Regions from separate parts of the Homo sapiens genome. Here region 1 is linked to region 2. Evidence: promoter capture Hi-C in human tissues and cell types (Jung and others, 2019). All regions are on one chromosome and are shown on one strand. The core of a region is centred on a gene start or on the middle of the fragment in contact, and the rest is flanking DNA. Distances in the headings are between cores, read along the strand shown. Region 1 has its middle 68 kb from the start of LRRC8B. Region 2 holds the start of GBP1 (guanylate binding protein 1).

What was found. The method cuts DNA at HindIII sites, captures the fragments that hold promoters and counts their contacts. A contact is called where the count stands out against the background at its distance.
Region 1: a contact is called between a fragment that was not itself captured here and the fragment with the promoter of GBP1 in region 2, in 2 of the 25 tissues and cell types used here (H1 embryonic stem cells and stomach).

What each region holds. Positions count from the first base shown.
Region 1 is chr1:89,454,444-89,458,467 of GRCh38, forward strand. No RefSeq gene overlaps it. Among named protein-coding and RNA genes, the nearest start is that of LRRC8B, 68 kb to the right of the region's middle. The HindIII fragment of the contact is 4,815 bases long and covers 1-4,024 here.
Region 2 is chr1:89,063,419-89,067,472 of GRCh38, forward strand. GBP1 (guanylate binding protein 1) reads right to left here and starts at 1,790. Exons shown (of 11, transcript NM_002053.3): 1 at 1,742-1,790. The region is part of intron 2 of LOC105378841 (a long non-coding RNA gene); the gene reads left to right. RefSeq lists an enhancer at 1,987-2,086. The HindIII fragment of the contact is 6,241 bases long and covers 1-3,776 here.

The sequences.
Region 1 (4,024 bases), core at 813-3,312, 390 kb after region 2:
AAGCCAAGCATGTTATCATGCACCAGGAGTAATAGCTACTCTAGAGGCTGAGGCAGGAAGATCGCTTGAGGCCATCCACTACACTCCAGATGTAGGCAACTCCATCTCTGAAAAAATTTAAAAGCCAAATAGTAATATTTTAGGATTTGCATACCATAAGTCTCTGTCAAATCTATTCTTCCAGAGCAACCATAGACAATATGTAACAAATGAGTGTGGCTGTGTTCCAATAAAACTTTATTTACAAAAGTAGGCAGTGGGATAAATTTGGCCCATCTCTTGTTTGCTGACCCCTGGATTAGGTAAAGTTAATGGAACAATATGCAAGGGATTATTACCAGCCCAGGTATCTTACAAGTTAGTGGATCAGTTCCAGGCTCTCAGTCTAAGTGTCTACTTCTAAGGTGATTTGGATCAAACAACATATAAAAATTCTCATCGGAGCAGAGATACCAACAAAAAATGTGTTTACTCTGTCTATCTGACTATCAGTCAAGTGAATTTCTGCCTGGATTCCTGAGCAATGAATTGACATGTCTGCTCAATTAATTGTCTAACTCCCAACAGCATAGTGCTGCCCACAGCTCCTACATAAGCCACAGAGTAATACGTGGTGATGGAACAAAATCAGTAGTAAAGAGGAAGAACCTGGTCTGGCTAGGGGGACACCTGCCCAGGTCTGCAGGCCCCTGTGAGTGAGCAAGAAAGCCTAACATTTGGATGTATGTCATGATGACTCCGGCTAGTCCTAGCGGGGTGGACAATGAAGTTATAAATACAGATTTTGCAGAGATATTTCTGCTTGCATTTGCTAGATACGGCCTGTTCACCTCAAACACAGATTAAGGAACAGCAGTGTTATCATGGATGTATCATGCCTACACTGAAGAGATAAGCGCTTGCAGGCACTGCCATCATGTGGCTATGTTTGGTAATTTATTTGGTAATATACGAATGAATTTTCCTGTGGAAAGTGATATCAATATAGAATATATAGATATCAGTATAGAATTTATGGAAATTTATTGATGGCAATATAGAGTTTATAGAAATTCATAATAAATTATAAATTATGGTGAAATCAAATTTATTTTTCAAATATTTGAAATAAATTTTATATATAAAGTTTACTATATTAATATTTATTGTAAATATAAACTTTATATATGTATTATTTATTAAATATTGATTAAATGTGTTATAATGGTATTAATATAAATATTTATTATAAAATGAATTTTGGTAATATATTAATTATAAAATAAATAATAAACATATATTTGAAATATAAAATTCACAATAAAATTTGTTATAATAAAGTTGAAATCCAGCTACATAAATAAATCAAATTCATACATTGATAACACTGTATGCATTTTCTAATGTAAACATGACTATGATGGAGGTTTTTTAAAGGTTAATTGAAATGATGAAAGAAATGGTAAGGTCTTAGGTTCCCATGGGGATAATGTGTTTTTATTTGGTTTCTCTCTCCAACAAGGAAAGACTTGGATGTGTATAGTTTATTTGGGAAATGGTGACAGGAAGCCAGGGAAAGGGAGAGTAACACACGGACAAAGCTAAAAAGGCGAATTAATGAGTTGGTTACTATTGTGAGCAACTGGAGATCAATCCCAAAGTGGATATTCTGAAGAATTATATAGAGTGCATTTCATAATTGTCTCTTTGAGGGACAATGTGGAGTATTTATTTAACAACCCAGTTTCCATTGGTTGAGAGTTCCCCTCAGGGACTTTAGCTCCTCTGAATTTATAAGCTGTGCTTGGGCAAAAGAGGCAGCCTTACATAGCCTGAACAAAAACCTGAGTAAGTAAAGGAGAAAGACTCTCAACAGAGGACATAGCAGCTGCTGGAACTGTCTGCTATGGCCGCACTGCTAAATGGATTTGAGAATAGAAGCAAGTGGCAGAATGAGCAGATACGAGTTTTGGCAATAACTTAGGCTGAGGATTTGGGGAGTGTGGTAGACTAATCTGAATAATCTATGCAGACAAAGATTTGTGCTGAAAAAAAGGTAAAATTTTGGATTTAAAAATGTTTAATATTTTTAAAAGCAGTATTAAAAATGGACTAATTTGTCATGAATGATCTTAAAGACCAAATTCCAAGGGAAGGTGGGAGACCAAAGAGTTAAGTGGAGTTATTGAAGCTGTTTTTTTCCTAATAGCATTTGCCAACAAAGGGAATGAACTTTCAGGGATTTTTGTTTGTTTTGCTTTTTATTTTATTTATTTTTATTATACTTTAAGTTCTGAGATACATGTGCAGAATGTGCAGGTTTGTTACATAGGTATACATGTGCCATGGTGGCAACCTTCAGTTTTGAAGGCATTTATGAAGTAAGCAGACAGAGGTCAAAGACCAGAGCTTGTCTAAAGTAAAGAGTCTAGTAGGAGGCCTCCTTTAGAAGTCAAAAGACTAAATAAGTAATTCTTAATACTTGCTGCACTTAATCATCAACTGGGGTTCTCCTTAAAAATCCTTACACTCGAGCTCTGACCCATCACCAGAGACTGATTTAGTAAGTCTAGAGTTGAGGCTGAGTGTGAGTGTTTTAAAGCCTCGCTCCACCTCCAGGTGGTTCCAGTTACAGTCAAGGATGCTATTCAGAGCAACTGTGAACTAGAACTAGCAGGGCAAGCAGGTTTAGGATTGGCTAGCTGGAATAATTTCAGTGGGCTCTGAAGCAGAGGAATTGTTCTTACTTTCTGGTATTTGGCCTTTGGGTGAGTAGGGCAGATGGGTAGTGACCCAGAGTGTGAGAGCCAACAGAGAAAGTGGTGGCGTGTGGGCTTCAGGTTGGTTAGTTTGCATATGAAAGGCACACTTGCAGGAGAATCCCTTAGTATCTCTAAAAACTGCCTAGCCCTGGGAGGATCAGTCTCTCCAGGATCAGCAAAGCCCCAAGATGTCTAAAGCTTTAAATAGGGAAACTAGAAAATGTGTTAATTATGGGGTTGCATATCTTGGATGGTCCATGAAGTCAAGCCAAGAGCTTAGCACAAAACACCCAGAATAGTCAAAGTGACCTGAGAACGAAGAACAAAGCTGGAGGCATCACACTTCCTGATTTGAAAATGTAATACAAATTTACAGTAATTAAGACAGTATGGAACTGGCATAAAGACAGACATATAGACCAATGAAACAGAATAGAGAGCCCAATAAAACAGAATAGAGAACCCAGAAATAAAATATTTGGAAAATATATTGAAAAGGCACTCAATATCACTAATAATCAGAGAAATGCAAATCAAAACCACAGTGACACATCACTGCACACCTGTTAGGATGGCTACTATTTAAAAAAAAAAGGCCAGGCACAGTGGCTCATGCCTGTAATCCTAGCTCCTGGAGAGGCCGAGGTGGACAGATCTCTTGAGCCCAGGAGTTCAAGACCAGCCTGCATAACATGGCAAAACCCTATCTCTACTAAAAATACAAAAATTAACTGGGTGTGGTGGTTTGCACCTATAGTCCCACCTGCTCAGGAGGATGAGGTTGGAGGATCACCTGAGTCTGGGGAGATCAAGGCTGTGGTGAGCCCAGATCATGCCACTGCACTCCAGCCTGGGTGACAGAGTAAGACCCCATCAAAAAAAAAAAAAGAAACTTTAAAAAATAATGGTGTTGATAATGATTGTAGAAATTGGAACCCTTGTACACTGTTGATTAGAATGTACAAGGGTGTGGCTACTATGCAAAACACTATGAAGGTTCCTCAAAAAATTAAAAATATTACTACCACACGATCCAGCAATATCACCTCTAGGTATACATTCAGAAGAAGAAAAACCAGGACCCTGGAGAGATAGCTGCACTCCCAAGTTCATTATTCACAATAATCATTCACAATAGTCAAGATATGGAAATAACACAAATATCCAAAAATGGATAAAAATGTGTGTGAATATTATTTAGCTTTTAAAAAGAATGTTCTGTCATCTGAAACAATAGGGATAAACCTGAAGACATTATGCTAAACAAATAAAGCCAGTTACAG
Region 2 (4,054 bases), core at 540-3,039:
TCATTATGAAAAATGTTAGCATGACAGTGACTTATCAACACTCAACTACTCTCACGACCCAAATATTTCATTTAGTTTATTGTGGAAAACTTTCTTTTTGGATTCTTATTAGATATTTTCACTAGTCAATTAATGGAAGATAGAATAGGATTTAGAGGATTTATTTGCATCCTGGCTGTATGTAAGGAATTCAATATTGATTCACTTATTAATTCTCACAGTGAATAAACATCCAACACAGTGAATCAGTATTCATAGTTTGATGTTTACCCTTAGAAAAATTTCCAAAGATTTTTAAATGTGTTCCTTCCTCCATCTTCAAATGATTATGCTTATTTCACTGCAATGAGGATTGACAAAGCTTCTCACATTGCCATTCTGGAAGTGGTAACAATGTAACATACTTTTGCAAATTTTATAAAACTATACAACCATGTGAAACACATGGCTAGGGAACCTTCCAAGGGCTCCTAAGGGTCATGTCCAAGAGAAGGGCCCTGAAACTTAAGCTTCATTAGAGTCACGATAAGATAGCTTCTAAGTCACTGAGGGTATGAATGCAAAATTGCAAATACTGAATGTTTCCTCCAGATAATAAGGATTAAAAGATCAAGAGGCAGATAAAGAGAGCTACCTAGGAAGTTGTTCAAATAAAATATATTTCCAGCGATACAGCTTTAGGATTTCTGTTTTGTTCTGTTTTCCATTTGGTAGGGTAGGAGAAAGAGAAATAGAAAGAGGAGGAATAGTAGGAGTGGAGAGGAGGATAAGGGGCTGGGAATGTGTGTGTGTGTGTGTGTGTGTGTGTGTGTGTGTGTGTGTGAGAGAGAGAGAGAGAGAGAGAGAGAGAGAGAGAGGAGCTGTCAGACCAGAGGTGATGAATGAGGCTAGTGTCTTGACAAGGCATTCAGGGGAAGACTTTGCAGAAGGCAGGATCAAAGTAGTCTGAGTGCATGGAGAGGTTAAAGTAAGCAAAGATATTTTCTGTAGAGATGCATTACAGGAGAATTAAAGAGGAAACACTTTTGGCCCTGCTCTCTACTAAAAGAAGACAAAATTGGAAGCACTTCAGTGAAGCAGTGGGGTTGAATTTCACTTCTAAGGGACAGGGATCAGTGGGCACTAGGAAATTAGTGAGTCTGGACTATTTCTAAAGAAAGTAATCCATTCTGAAACAAAGTTCACAAGTGTAATAAAAAGTATACTGTTTTCATGAATCTTCATCTTTCAGGCTGAGTTTCAGTTTTTTCTTTGTCTTTAACCGTGTCAGTGGGCTGCTTACTCTGCTTCTCATTTGCTGTTCTTTCCTTCCATGAAAAGAACCCGTTTGTAACTCTTCCATTTCTTAGCTGCATAGAAGCAGGATTCAGTCCATCACTGACGATGGAAATGTAATCATATCCCTAGTCAACATAGATAATGTCAACAAAGAGAAAGACTATCCTAGTACATTTCAAATGCTCAGTTTAGCCCCTGTCTACTGGTGCCTAATTCAACACAAGCACTGTAGTGGCACTTAAGGCCATGCTGTCCCTGATAACACCAGGATTTCATCTGACCTGCGTCCCACTTCAGGCTCATCTGCAGCCTAATTTGGTTCTGATGATGTTTAAGAAAATGAACTGACCTTTATAAATTCCTTCCCATCCCTGCCACAACCTTATAGGTTCCATATCACTGAGCTGAGATCCTTTGGAGCTAGAGAGAAAGCTGCTTGATGAGAAGTAGTAAAAGTTCTTACCTGTTCTTTTTCTCCTTAGTTCACGAGCACTGGCTTCTAGCACTTCTGTGTCTCTCACTGGATCCCTGGACTAATATTTCACTGTTCCGAAGTTGTAGGGCTGGGATTTCCTCATTGATGAAATATTTAGAAGCTAAGCAGATTTGTAATGGATTTAGAGTAATATGAAACTGAAAGTACTTCGTTCAAATCACTGACTCCACTACCATAAATGGAATTAGTGGAGTGTGCCAGTGGGAGGGTTTAAAGATTTCTCAACCAGAAGCTTCAAATTTTTTTTGTTGTTGTTGGAAATCTTAGAGACCATTTGTTGTCTAACAAAATGCCCATTAGGTTTTGAATACAATGATACATGTCTCATGGATTGAGTCAATTTGAGAAACCTAGAATGAGGAGGCATCATGTTAATTTTCAGCTACAATTTCCTAAAATAATAGACACACTCTCAATGGAGCTGCCTATTCTTTGAGAGGTGCAGTACATAAGGAAAGGACATGTTTAACACACTCATGAACACCTAACCCCTGGCACTTAATGCCCAGCACACAGCCAGGAGGGGGCTCCATGTGTTGTACTCATGTTCTAGGCTCAGTACTGATGGCTTTACATGAATCGCACAACTGAAAACTCATAATATTTCCTCATGGTTTTATAGAAACTGAGCACAGAAAGACTTTATTAGTTGTCTAAAATCATAACACTGTAACTAATCTGAACCCAAGCACTCATGATCCCATACCCTCTTCTTGAACCACTTCACTATGCTGCTTATTTACTAAGTGAAAAATTGTAGAAATATTTTATTTATAGGTTTTTTATTTTTAAATTTATTATAGTGTGATTTTATTTTTATAGATTGTTTTCTAAGAGCTGTTTGTGTTTTATGTCTAATTCAGTAATGACTTCTAGCATACAGAATAAGTGGCATTATCTCTATTTTACAGCAAAAGCAAATAAAATAGTAAAAAGCCTGAGTGAACATTTCATTTAAAAATATATTTATAGTGATGTGGTTTCACTTTGTTGCTTAGGTTGGTCTTGAACTCCTTCCTTCAAATGATCCCCCTGCCTCGGCCTCCCAAATTGCTGGGATTATAGGCATGAGCCACCAGACCCAACCTTGTGTGAGCATTTCTTTTTTTTTCTTTTTCTTTTTCTTTTTTTTTTTTTTTTTTTTTGAGATGGAGTTTCACTCTTGTTGCCCAGGCTGGAGTGCAGTGGCACGATCTCGGCTCACTGCAACCTCCGCCTCCTGGGTTCAATCAATTCTCCTGCCTCAGCCTCCCAAGTAGCTGGGACTACAGGCATGTACCACTATCCTGGCTAATTTTGTATTTTTAGTAGAGATGGGGTTTCTCCATGGTGGTCAGGCTGGTCTCGAACTCCCGACCTCAGATGATCCACCCACCTTGGCCTCCCAAAGTGCTGGGATTACAAGTGTGAGCCACCAGGCCTGGCCAAGCATTTCTCACTTACACATTAAAATTATATATTAGATGTATATAAATTGCAGATACAGTGTCTTTTCTCATTCATACTTTGTAAAATAATTTTATCTAAACTCTTTCTATCATCCTTCCTTAACACTGTAGCTCCTTTATTATTAAAACTACTTTAAAGTCTTTTACTTTTTAGAGCATAACATTCTTACATCTGTCAAAATTATTTGAACCATTTAAAATCTCTGCAGATTGTCCTGGAAGTGTAGGGGTGGGTTGCCCCTCCACACCTGTGGGTGTTTCTCGTAAGGTGGAACGAGAGACTTAGGAAAGAAAAAGACACAGAGACAAAGTAGAGAGAAAGAAATAAGGGGAGCCGGGGAACCAGCGTTCAGCATATGGAGGATCCCGCCAGCCTCTGAGTTCCCTTAGTATTTATTGATCATTCGTGGGTGTTTCTCCGAGAGGGGGATGTGTCAGGGTCACAAGACAATTGTGGGGAGAGGGTCAGCAGACAAACACGTGAACAAAGGTCTTTGCATCATAGACAAGGTAAAGGATTAAGTGCTGTGCTTTTAGATACGCATACACATAAACATCTCAATGCTTTACAAAGCAGTATTGCTGCCCGCATGTCCCACCTCCAGCCTTAAGGTGGTTTTTCCCTATCTCAGTAGATGGAACATACAATCGGGTTTTATACCGAGACATTCCATTGCCCAGGGACGGGCAGGAGACAGATGCCTTCCTCTTGTCTCAACTGCAAGAGGCATGCCTTCCTCTTATACTAATCCTCCTCAGCACAGACCCTTTACGGGTGTCGGGCTGGGGGACGGTCAGGTCTTTCCCTTCCCACAAGGCCATATTTCAGACT